Linked DNA regions of Homo sapiens: region 1 is linked to region 2. The links are contacts of gene promoters, found by promoter capture Hi-C in blood cells and fetal thymus (Javierre and others, 2016). All regions are on one chromosome and are shown on one strand. The core of a region is centred on a gene start or on the middle of the fragment in contact, and the rest is flanking DNA. Distances in the headings are between cores, read along the strand shown.

Region 1 (6,631 bases), core at 2,588-5,087, 5.5 Mb before region 2:
TCACGCTTTTTTTTTTCCCTACTAAGGCTGGAAAGAGTAAGCATAGATGTTATCATGAATTTTTAAAGGTAGAAAAAAAAAGGAAATTAGAAATTGGGGTCTACTGATACTTTTCTAATAATACAATTTATATGAATTTTGTCTAGACTGAGATCCTTAGAAAAATAGTGTTGAAAAATGACTCTGCCTGCCTAAATTGGTTTTTTACCTTAAGACTTCAGAAACAAAGAGTTTTTGAGCTGGGAGACATTTCAGAGAGTAGGCCTCTAGTCTGTCTTTTTATTTTGTATGAGAAAACTGAAGCTCAAAAAGGTTAAATGACTTGCTCAAGTGCCTGAAGGTAGATGTCCTGAAGAAAGCCTAGAAAAGCAATTTACTGCAAATAATGCTCCATTAAATTGTAAATTGCTATTGGATTAAATAAATCCTTAAGGAAAAAATATATATATATTGGCTGTTAAACAGTTTTTAGTTTTTAAATTAATCAATTTCAATAGTCCTACATCAATAGTCTTTGAAAGGACATTATTTGAGTTGATGCTTTCCCAAGTCCTGTTGAGATCAATTGATATGTTTCAAACATAATATCCCACTGAAGAAAGCTTTATGTGTGCTTATGTCTTAGAATGAATCTTATATCAGTGAGATCAGTGAGTAGTTATGAAAAATCCCATAGAGGGGTTCATACAGATGACCCAAGTGAAGAAAGAGTTAACTGCAGCGCCCCATCTCCTTGTAAATAATCCAGAAAAGCATTCTTTTTTTAAGCAATACAAAATGTCACCACAGGCTGACGCTCTTTCTACAAGAATAACGAGAATATTGCTATCTCGGATGTTGAACACACACTTCATTGCCTTCATCTCTGAATTCAGTTTTCGTGGTTCATATATTTTTCTCCTCCTTTCAAAACAGGTAACGTGGCACGCCTAAAATATATCAATGACTTTGTAGCGACTACAAGCCGAAAGACCCGGGGAAGCAGTTTCACAAACTCGAGTTTTTGACCTCTACAACTGGACATACACTATTAAAACTGCTCCGGAAATGAAGAGTGGCCGGCAGGGAAGGCAGTTACCCCGCTCAAATGAAGCCGGCCTTTGGCACCGCGCCCCCACCGGGCTCTGCTATGCAGAGGGCTCCGAAGAAGGCGCACTTACTGTCCAAGACTTGCTTCCTCAGTGTAGACACGGCGCCTTTAGTGCTGTAACCTTTCCTTTCAAAACACACTGATACTGCAATGAGAATTTCGGCAATGCCAGCTCGGTAATTCACCGAAACCACGGATCTGAGGGTCCAGGGCCGATATCGGATCCTCAGATTCACGGTGGCTGGTTGCGGTGAGCCGGGGCTAGCCGCTCGCCGAAAGCGCGCAGCTCGGTGCCCCCTGGACACACGAGCCTGTGGCGCCAAAAGAACCACCGTGAAGGAGGTCTGAAAGCGGAACTTTCCCCCTTTTAGCAGTTAAATGTGTAGAAAAACCTATCCTGCGACGTGGCCCGCCTGTGACGGCACCGAAAAGGAAACTGGTTATGTGCCTGTGTCAGGGGTGTGGACGAGGGTGAGATTACATTCTCCAAGTCTCGAGGGGGTTAATCGGAAAACCAACTGTGGGCGTGTGGACGTTTGCATGTTACAAACCGACATCACCCTTGTCCTCCCTTCTTGGCTCATTCCCTGGCTCCAAAGTGTCCTTTCCTCCATCGGACAGTGGAATCTCGAAAAAGTGAAATCCACACTGTGCCAGGCCCAAGGGGGTCTCGCCTTTCCACCTACCTCCCCAGCGTTGTTACACTAGGACACCTGCTTTAAATCCGGTTGAACTATGGTTTCACAGTCCCCGCCCCAGAGCCCGAGATTTGTCAGAGAACGCAGACGCCTTTTTTTTCCCTCAGCCTCAGAAACATCAGGTGAGCTCATTACCTCACCCAGAAATGTAACTTTAATAAAGAGATCTGGAGAGGGCACTCCTCCCGCCCACACACACAGCAACGGCAGCAGCAGCAGCAGCTCGCAAACACTTGTAATCTCTTCCTCAGGCTCTGGCCCCCAAACCCCTCTCCCCGCCAGTTCCTGGGAGAGATTCAGAGGCTTTCAAACCTCTTCTGTGACCTGAGCTTGCCGACAGCTGAAGGGATGTGCACGGATAAAAGGAAGTGAGATTTTTCTTTGATAAAAGCTAAAGAAAAAGCTAAGAACAAACAGGCCAAAATACCAGGAAGTAGGAGTTTAACTGGCAACTGTCTACGCAGGGATAGAAAAAAAAAACTTCAAAGAAAAAAAAATCCCCTAAATTTTCAGTTTAGGGGAGCAAAGGAACCTGCTGCTCTGTCAGGCAACTGTGAGCGCACGGAATACCCTGTTAGAACAACTTGTGTCAGCCGCCAGGCGGGCCTGAGGATACCAGGGCCAGGGGACGTCCCCGAGGGTGTGGAAAGGGATTTCCCGAGAGATATTTTAGTTGTTGGGAATTTTGCCTTTTCTCTCTCTCTCTCTCTCTCTCTCTCTCTCTCTCTCTCTCTTCCAAGACTCAGTACAGAACTGAGAACTGAGGCTCTATGAGCAGGTCCTGGAAATTCACAAACCTCTCACTGAGGTGTCTCCCAGGCCTACCTACTAATTCCTGTTCTGGCTGTGTTATCTGCCTGCGGTCACCCTTTCACTCACCACCCGCCCAGACAATGGACGGGGACCGCAGGGGGTAACGTTGAAACCACGATTTTAAGCTTTAGCAGGTTTCGCAAGGGGGGCGGGGGGAGGTGATTAAAGTCCTCTCCTTCTCTACCCCTCCCATCCCTTCCTCGGCTCACCAAGGGGAAGTTACTAGGGGATTTATCACGAAAAAGTGCCGGCAGTTATTTCATCCGAGAACTAAGCGAAAGAAAAACTGCTCGGGGCGCAGTGACGTGGACTTGGATACCCAGAGACAGGAGGAACTGTCAGAGGGCAAGAGTCCGCCGCCTAGCTGGGAGCCGCAGGGACAAGGGGAGAGCGTCAGGCGAATCCTGCCCACCCCGGAGCACCAAGTTCCTGGAGATTCACCCAGTTTCCCCAGCTTGATGCCCAAACTTGAGCTAACCAGCCAAGCCCAAACGTGCGGCACAGGTGACCGAGCCCGGGGACAGCTCTGTGCCAGGACAGCGGTCCCCTTACCTCCACCACGCGCCTGGGCGCACTGCCTCGGGGGTGCGAGGCTGGGACGGGGACCTAGGAAACTGCTCCAGGCCCACGTCTGTCTGGGGCTGCTCCCAGGCCCTTGCTCACCTGGCCTGAAGACGGTGGCGGAGATCAAGAGGCAGAAGAGCAGACGGCAGGAACTGGCCCCCTTGGATTCCATATTCCTCCTCCTTCTTGGTGGGCCACTGACGGAGTCCACGCCGCAGGAGGGGGCGTCGTCCCGGGCCCCGCGGTGCCCGCGCGCTGGCGGGTCCCGACGCAGGGGCAGCGTCTTCTCCCAGACACACCGTCCCCTGGGCTGTGGCGCTGCACCTTCGGTTCTCTGCCGCACGCAACTTTCCACCACGCAATGCCCCCAACTCCTCCTCCCTCCCGGTCAACACCAGCCCACGGGCCCTTCGGCTGCTCCTCCGGGGACAACGACCCTCTGTTTCCAGGAGACACTTGAGTAATTCGGAAAGGTGTAAGCGGTTCTTTTCGCTGGTATCTTCTTTTATTTTCCTTGTATTGGAATGATAATAATAATGGCAGTGGCAATGTGCATGAAACGCCAGGTGCTAAGAAGGACTCGCAGGAGGCGGCGACGGGGGGGCGGCGGGTCTCCTCAGGTGGCAGCGGTGGTAGCAGCGGCAGCGGCGGCAGCGGTCTCCGGGCTGCTCTGAGTAGAGGGACTGGAAGGCGTGTGTAAGCTGCCTCTTTCCTCCTCTCCCCGCCTCCTCCCTCCCTCCCGTCTCCTCCCCACTTCCCCGGACGCAGCGCAAAGCAGGTGGTTGAAGCGCGGATCCGCAGCCTAGAGGCGCTGCAGGACTGAGTCCGAGCCCTGAGCCCAGCTCCGGGATCAGGGAGAACCGCGTGCCCCGGTCCTGGAGCCCGGATGAGCGGTGCTTCACCGCGGCTCCGCCCCCAGGGCCAGGTCCGCCAATAAGAAGCAAGCACAGGAGCCGCGCGCGCCAGGGAGAGCCCTGGGACTAACACTTTCTGTGATGTTGCAGCGCCCCAGTGATAAGGCCTCTGGCTTCCAACTGCCCACCCACCCTCGCTGAGGTTTAAAAATCGACTGCCCTCTCCCTCCACCCATACGCCCATCCCACTGACTCATTCCTCAGAGATTTTTCTCCGCCGTGCTGCTGCAGCCTTCTGTCCTGTAAAGAGAATAGTGGGGCAGGGCGGTGGCGGTGGGGAGCGAACCTTGGGTCCAAGAGCGGGAGTGAAGGGAAAAGGAAAGGAAAGGGCAGGAGGAAGTGGCAAAGGTGGAAACTTGCTTCTTGGGAGTTAACAGGAATAGCTACTTGTTGGCAGGGGCAACCCCTGTACTGGACTGATTCCTCCTGTACTTTTCGAATCTCTCTCCTCCCCCTGCTCACCCCCACCACTCCCCTCACACCCGGCTGGCATAGACTTGGTTTTAAAGGAAGACTACGTGAGTCGACTGCCCGGTACCAACAGAAGATATTTGCTTTTCCCGGGGGAAATTAAATCCGGAATTTCTAAACCGTACTTCGTCATACGGATTTTCCCAATGTCTACAAAAGCCCTCTAGAGAGCGTGTCACTTTTTTACTTTGAGTTAAGCGGTGATTTTAAGTTATAGACAGAAAATCCTCAAATTATTTCAGATTAAAAGCCAAGTCCGTCTTGGTCCGTTCCCGAAAGCCAGGCACTCCAGCAGATGGACAGGCTTCTTAGGCAATTTCTAAAGATTGAACCACCTCCCAGGAGGAACATCGGGAAGCTGTGTTGCTTTCAAATCAGGCAGAGAGCATGAAGGAAGATTTTCCTCTAGAACACCGGGGTGGAGCTGTCGGAGCCCTAAGTGGCTCTAAATCAGGGATGCAGGATCACAACTCTCATCACCAAAGAATAATAAAATCTTGGTCCCTGAAGCACTTCGCTGGGGCATTAAATAGCCTTTCGTGCATCACAGGGTCACCCTTTTGTGAGACTGGTCTCCAGCAGAGGATGCCAACTAGTAATCGTTACATACTGCACTTTCATCAGAAAACTGCGAGTTACCAGCGAGATTGGAGACTCGCAACACACAGACACACACACACACACACACACTCACACACTGATTTTTAAAATTGTTTATCTTTTAGTGCTCTAAACTATTAAGCCCTATCTTCAGCTGTGATTTTTCTCAAAAGCCTGCTTGTCCTGTTCTTCCAGTTCTCCTTACATTAACAATATTCTAGAGTAGAGCTTTTATACCATATTTTTTTCCTCTCAAAATAAGTAGTTTCTCCCACTTGGTTTAAACATTAACATTTCATTTGCATCTTATGAATCAACAGGAAGGCTATCGCTAGGAGGCAAATGCCTTTTAACTCTATATTCCTTGAGCTAAGCTTGGCTGAAATGCTAGCATTTCCATGGACTCCTGTAGAATTGCTTTAGGGAATTGTTTTCTTTTTCACTGTGGTTGTAAGTGGGGTGTATTAGAATAAATCGACCTGACAATATATTTAACCTAGGTCCGCGAACGCTCTATCTGATCTCCTCTATTTTACGATGGGAGTTAATACAGCATAATTGCTTAAAGGTAGATTTGCAAAAGGAAGACTGATTTGGGCTCTGACACTAACTGTATGATCTTGGTCAACTCACTTAACCTCTTTAAGCTTCAGTCTCCTTTCTTGTAAAAAGTGATAATAGTGCTAGCCTCATGGGATTGCTGTGAAGATCAAATGAGATCAAACACACAAACACACACGTGGAATTCTGGGAGCAACTGACTATACAAATATGTACATATTATACTTATACACAAACACATGCATATATATATGGGCATATGTATAATATATATTTGAATGTGTAGTCCACTGCTTCCAGAATTGTTTTTAGAAAGGAATGTGTCCTAGTTTAGGAAAATGCCTTGATAAGCCACTTGGACTAGTAACTCCAAAGGCTATTGGTCATTAAAAAAAAATGGTGAAACGGCTCTATATTAAACAAAATAATAACCATGAAAATAGAAATTTGGCCTGGGAGTGGGGACGAAGGCAACAATACAAAGCATGAGTTTAGAAATGTTCAAAGGTCTTTAGATCTATTAATTAGCAACACTTACATGTTAGAATATTCTAAGCAATTTATATGAATTAATAGATGTATTCCCCTCATAAAAATTTATTGAAGGAGTTGCTATTTTCATCCTCATTTTACTCATGAAGAAACTGAAACCCAGAGACTCGAAGCAACTTTTCCAAGGTCACACAATGATTCATAGCAATGGTAAAGCCAGGGTTCTACCCAGGCATTCTGATTCTTGAACTGAATTCCTATCTACTTTGCTCATCACTATCCACTTTGCTTATCAAGAATGCGTAGCAATAAATGTATGGTTTTTTTGGTGGGGCGATTGATTTAAACATAAGTTCTCTCATCCTTTCACACACATTTTCATTAAGGAAATTTATTAATAAAGCAGCGCACCCTATCTGCGTAGGCCA
Region 2 (6,437 bases), core at 116-2,615:
AAGAGTCAGGAAGTTTAATCAAGGAAATGTTGTATTGGCTACCTTTCTAAAAATGACATCTGCTTAGTTTGTACCTGAAGGCTTGACCTTCCGGAAACAATGCAACAAATGAAGTTGGTTATTTTTAATGGATATTTCACAACTAGTATTTCAAGATTGTTTGCAGCAAATAGGTATCAAGTGTCTAACATGTGCAGGGCCCTGTGGATGACAGAAGTATGAATCTGACTTTGGCCCTGTCTTCTCTTGTAGAGAAAAGAGGCAGACCTTGAGGAGTGATAAAAACCAACCAACCAATAATTGCATGGTAGGTGTGATGGAACTTAAAAAGTTCAAGGCTAGCCTGACATGGGGGGTCACTTAACGCTACTCTACTTGGGGATGAAATGCCCACTGCATCAGGAGTTGGTAAACACAGCAGAGCATAGTAGAAACTATTCAAATTGTGTTAACTGAATTCTAGTATTGTTTCTGAAAGGAGCTAGCTTTGTGAACTTGTCAAGTTACTTGACATCTTTAGGTTATGTTTCTCATCTGTAAAATAAGTGAGTTCAAAGGATGATCTCTATTTAAGCCTCCTTCCAGTTCTACTATTCCAAATTCCATGATAATGATGATGACCACAAGAAATACAGTAACTTATATTTACCACACATTATATGTCAAGCACTATGCTAAAGTGCATTACTGTACTAACTTCACTTAATCTTCACAACTTTACGAAATGGACATTATTGTTATCATTATTTTACAGATGAGGAAAAGGAGGCTAAACAGTATCAGAATACTGGAGTCGTGATTTGAATGGAGGGAGTCTGAAGCAGCAACCCCTGCTTCTGACCTCAGTCTGAATTGAAAGCAGTTCATGGGTCACCCTTAACCATCATACAAAGTTGCCTCTCTTCACAAAAACTGTCTTATCCATTCTCAAGAAATAAGGAAAAGAGAAAGCTTGTGGAAAGGATCCTTCCTGGCTGGCAGACAGATCTGAGTTAATGTCACAGCTGTCTGTTTCACGTGTTAAAGAATCTCTTGCACCATTTTCCCCGAGATGCTTGCGCGCTCCCAAGGCGGTGCACACCCCTGCTGGGCAAACACCGCGATCGCCAGAAGCGACCAGGGCTGAGGCGCACGGAAGGGCTCCGGGAGAGGCCCCGTAGGAGCGCGGGCACAGAGTGGGTACCTGGGCTGCTGCCTGCTCCAGTCGGCTGGTTCTCCCACCACTCGTCTCCGAGATCGTCTGCCATTTCAGCTCAGGTCTCGACGTGGGCAGAACATCACGGGTAGGCGACCAGCTGCGGAGAATCACGTTGTCTCAAAGCCAGGCGGCCGGCGTAGCTACACGCGGAGCTCCCGCTAGACACTGTCGCCTCCGCCCCGCGGCGATGACGTCACACCTCTGCCCCGCCTCTCCGGCAGCCGCTCCCAGACTCGTCGCAGTTTCCACACAGGCGCCGACAGGCAGAAGCAGTTTGGAAACGCAACATAAATCCCCCCAAAGCTTAAAGACAAAAAGGAACATAAGACGAAAGGGATTGTCATCGTTTTTGATAATGCATTTTAAAAAATTTTGTTTACGTGTTACGTTTCCCGATAAGATTGTGTCGAAAGTGTGAGACACCATGTGAAGACGATTTTTCTCCGCTCAGTTTCAAAGAACTTGCGCAGCGGGAGAAGACCCAAACATGTGCGTGTGTTTTCGCTTGTGCGTCAGTGTTTCAGAGTTTATGTGTTTGTACAGTTTGCTCTTAGAAAACATGCGCAAGGATCCATGACCATGAATGTCGGGCCTTTGTGGTAAATGTAGTTCTGCTATTTATGCAATATGAGTAAAGAAAATGTAATTGGCCTGGAAAGGCTCGCCCACAGAAAGACGCAAGTGGCTCGAAGACCCGCAAGTTGTTTTCCTCATACTCCCTCGGTTGTGTGTCCCACCCCCTATTTGGGAAACGAAGTAATAAGGGAGTCCATTGCTTCGTAACTATAGGTAAGAGACCCGCAGTGCCTCTTGTCTCAGTCCCAACGTGATTTGGCAGGGAGGGACTAGGAAAACCCGCTGGGCGCCAAGTGCTGGGGCTAGCTGTGAAGTAATTGTGGACGGTATTTTTCAGGACATCAAACACAGACGTAAAAATTATACAAAATGTAGTAAAAGCACGCAACGTGCCTGGTACTATGCATGGAATAGTAAGATGAGTCCATTCAGATGTTAGCCTACAGTAGTGGAAATTCAATTTGTAGGAATAAAGGGCTAGACTTCTAATAGGATACATCCTCGGAAATGACAAGACAGGGAAACTTAATCTGATGAGGCTAGGATTAGCCATATGTGGAAAATTACCCCGTGTGCACCCAACTCATAGATGTTTTATAAATGCATTACTGCCTAGACTTTGTCCGCACACTCTAAATGCCCCAAAAGGGAAGATATTATGTATAAATATGGCAAATGTAAAATAATCTATAAAGATCAAAAGTAATATGGCTTTTGTGAAGAAATGTAGATGACGAGATTTTCGTGATTAATAGATTTTTGAAAAAGATAAGAAATGCCAGTGTGGAAGAGGAGTTGCTATGGCTAATAAACATGAAAAGAATTCAGTCTGATTATTAATCTGGGAAATACAAAAAAAACACCACAGCGAGACCGTTTTTCAGGCAATAAATCACAAAATTAAGAAGTATGGGCCGGGCGCGGTGGCTCAAGCCTGTAATCCCAACGCTTTGGGAGGCCGAGGTGGGTGAATCACCTGAGGTCAAGAATTCCAGACCAGCCTGGCCAAAATGGCGAAACCCATCTCTACTAAAAATACAAAAATTAGCCGGGCATGGTGGCAGGCGCCTGTAATTCCAGCTACTTGAGAGTCTGAGGTAGGCGAATTGCTTAAACCCGGGAAGTGGAGGTTGCGGTGAGCCGAGATGGTGCCATTACACTCCAGCCTGGTTGACAAAAGCGAAACTCGGTCTCAAAAAAAAAAAAAAAAAAAAAAAAAAGAAGTCTGGCAATACTAAATTATGGAGTGTCTATGCATTAATGGGAATTGATACCTGTTTTGTACCATGAACTATGAATGGTCTTACATTATATTCCACCTCGCCTCAGCCTCCCGAGTAGCTGGGACTACAGGCACATGCCACCATTCTTGGTTATTTTGTTGTTGTTTTTGTTTTTTGTAGATATGGCGTCTCATTTTGCTGCCCAGGCTGGTCTTTAACACCTGGCTTCAAGCAGTCCTCCCACTCCAGCCTGCCAAAGTGTTGGTATTAGAGGCCTAAGCCACTGTGTCCAGCCATTTTTTACATTTTTAAAGCATTGTAAGAAACAGAACAAAACAACAACGACAACAACAAAAACGTAAAGAAAAATATGCAGCAGAGACTGTAGCCCTCATATATTTACTATTTATTACTATTCCCTCATATATTTGCTCTAACTTTACAGAAAAAAGTTTACTGACCCCAGATTATATTGAATAGCCAACCTAAGTTGTAGCATCCATTTCTGTTCTGTTTGTTCTGTTATTAGTGAATTGGTTATTAGTGAATAGGCATCCTGGTTTATAAATCAGTGTATTGTAAAACCGTACTCTCCAGTATCTGATCATATCATCTAACACAGGGAAGCTCAGGCTGAAATAACTATTAGGTCTTTTTCTGCTCCCTCTTACTGTTCAGTATCTGAATGAGTATTATTAGAGTTTAAAGGAGGAAGCATTCATTTCCCAATGGGGCGAACTGGGAGGTAGCACTTGACAATGGATGTCTGTCGGCAAAAATGGATAGGGTAAATGATAGTTCCTTGGCAGAAAGATTGCAATGTTGCTTTGAATAAGTTATTAAACTTTGCTGGGCATTTCTTTGTGAGTCTGTAAAATAAAGGGGAGCAATTTCATGATTCCTGTGGTCTCTTCCAACTCCATGCCTTAATCTTGAGTATCAGACCAAGAATTCTGGATTTTTGTCGTTGTTATTAGAGGCAAAGGACATGATGGAAGTATTGTTTTAGGAAAGCTAAATTGGTATTACTGTGCAGGATGAATAATGGATTTGAGCAGAGCTTCCCACCTGGCATGGGTGGGCTGAAGACTGACCCCTGCAGTCTTTGGAGGAAGCAGTGACCTTGGGGCAGTTGCCTCAGGTTGAGGGTATCATCATCTTTTCACTCTAGTGTTGTACAGATATTACCATTTTCTATGGATGCCATGATGTGAAAGGTTGGCAAAAACTGAATTAGTAAGAGAGCGATAAAGTTTGAAGGCTGTTTCGTGAATGCTCACCACACAATGAAAAGGTCTTAATCAGTGCAGAGGTTCTTAGTCAATAAGCCCAGCCTATAAGTGTACTTCAGGAACCATCATAATGCATTCAAACTTTTGCATCATGTAGACAATAATGGTAGTAACAATATCAACAATAGCATGTTGTATGTACCTCTCTATGCCTCTTATATCTTAATTCATTTAATCATAACTCCATGAGATACTGTGCTGGGACTAGGGTGAGGCAAGCAGAGACCTAGGATACCAGATTTAAGGAGGCAGTCACTCTCAGGCTGACACTGACACCGACCTGAGAATGCTTGTCTCACTTGAGTCCTGACGCTGGTCCCTTTACTGAAGGCCACAGCTCTAGTTCAGCAGCTCTCCTCAATTCTTTCTTCTGAGTCTAGTAACTTGCCTTTGTCTCTTCAGACTTAGGAGTGGTAACTGCTCCCCACCATTACTAGTCCTGGGGTTCTACACCACGTTTCATTTCCCTAACCTGACCTCATGTTCAGAAATACTCCCCTTACTAAATTATTTTCAGTTTTCCAGCTTAAATGGGTCATCTTTTGCATGGTAGGACCCCAACTGATAAAATCAACTGCCTACTTAGGGTTCCCCTCAAAGCAGAGCCTGTGACAAAGGCTTGGGTGCAAATAGTTTATTTGGGAGGTGATACCAGGATGCAGGAATAAAGGCAGAGAGAATGAGACAAAGAAGGAGGATTGATATTAAACTGGTTTTGATGTAGACAATGACTGGCTCTTTATCCTCTTGAAGACCCTCTGAAAAAAATAGGATATACCCCAGAATTAGCCTCACAAAGTGATACAGGAGTTAAGAAGAAATTACTTAGACACATAGTAAGGGTATGGGAGTCCTCAGTAAGGCTTTTCTTTTTAATGAAAAGCAGCCCCAAATAATTTTCTAACAAAGAGCAGCCTGCAAGCTGGGAGCTTACACGAATGAATGCTGGCAGGAACTAAGGACTAGACATGTTCAAATGGCGCCTCCGTTTTCCCTTCTCTGCCAGCCACGTGTACTGCAAGGAGCAGGCAAGATGGCACTGATCAACTGGAAAGTCCATTTGCATAATAAGATTAGGGTGGAGTGACCAGCCTTCCCCGTGTGCTATGAAAACATCATACCTGGTCGAACCAATCTGTGAGCCCTATGTAAATCAGACACCACCTCCTCAAACTGGACTAGAAAATTCGGCACTTTCCGCCACCAGCCAGTCTTTTCTGCTTGGAGACCCCTTTCTCTATATAAAGAAGAGACCTCTTTTTCTTCTCTTCTGCCTGTTAAATGTACGCTCCTAAACTCCTCGTGTGTGCCCAGGTCCTAAATTTTTCTGGTGCACAACGATGAACCCCAGGGTATACACCCCAGACAACATAGCATCTTCAAAAGGACAGAAGGCTAGGACACTTATCCACTGACTGTCATCTACCATTGAGTGAGGGTTGTTGCCAGGGTTATGAATTGGCAGATATTCCCAGGCTGTGCTGCTGTTGGAGAAAGCCCTGAGGCAGAAGAGTAGAGCAGTATACCTCAGCTCACTTGAGGTGGGATAATGACAGTGTGCCCAGAACTTTCCTCCATGGCTGAGCCAATTTCAAAATGAGCTAAGGGGCATAAAAAGCATCTGCTCCAGGTTTATACTGTTTTTCTTTCCATTTTATAGATGGTGAAACTAAGGCACAGAAAATTAAGTAACTTGCTGAGTTACTAGTAAGTGATTTCCCATCTGCCCCATGACCTTCATACACTCCCAATGTGGTCTGTGTCCCCAAAATAACCCACAGTCACTGCACTAGGGTAACAATAGTATAGAAAAAAAGGAAGAACCAAAATGAGGAGCATTACCATCAATTTGTGCTAATATTTTGGAAATAGGATGGTGAGGAAAACAGAAGTCAAAAAAATCTAAAGGTTCAAATCTTAAAAACTAAAAAAAAAAAAAAATCTTAGACGGGACTAGTAAAACGAGGAGGGAACAGTTTAGGGGGTAAAATGATGAGGTAGGCCTTAGACAAGGACAAAACAGACCATAAACAATAAGGACAAAATAGACAAAAGACAACTAAATGAATAAATAAATTCAGATAAAAATGATAAATTCAGCTAAAAGATAGAAGTGCTATAAAGGAACTACATAGCAATTGTGACCTA

Evidence for each region. The method cuts DNA at HindIII sites, captures the fragments that hold promoters and counts their contacts. A CHiCAGO score of 5 or more calls a contact.
Region 1: a contact is called between the fragment with the promoter of ALCAM here and the fragment with the promoter of CMSS1 in region 2, in 1 of 17 cell types (naive CD4 T cells). The highest score is 5.2, in naive CD4 T cells.

Annotation. Positions count from the first base shown.
Region 1 is chr3:105,364,115-105,370,745 of GRCh38, reverse strand. It overlaps ALCAM (activated leukocyte cell adhesion molecule), which reads right to left and starts at 3,837. Exons shown (of 16, transcript NM_001627.4): 1 at 3,265-3,837. The coding sequence starts at 3,337. RefSeq lists enhancers at 815-1,315, 1,316-1,816, 2,153-2,312 and silencers at 3,343-3,462, 3,793-3,892. The HindIII fragment of the contact is 2,798 bases long and covers 2,729-5,526 here.
Region 2 is chr3:99,812,790-99,819,226 of GRCh38, reverse strand. CMSS1 (cms1 ribosomal small subunit homolog) reads right to left here and starts at 1,365. Exons shown (of 10, transcript NM_032359.4): 1 at 1,184-1,365. The coding sequence starts at 1,247. It overlaps HP09053 (a long non-coding RNA gene), which reads left to right. Exons shown (of 3, transcript NR_110821.1): 2 at 253-307; 3 at 755-2,595. It overlaps LOC105374010 (a long non-coding RNA gene), which reads right to left and starts at 1,365. Exons shown (of 5, transcript NR_189163.1): 1 at 1,184-1,365. RefSeq lists enhancers at 1,099-1,408, 640-1,514 and a silencer at 930-1,684. The HindIII fragment of the contact is 550 bases long and covers 954-1,503 here.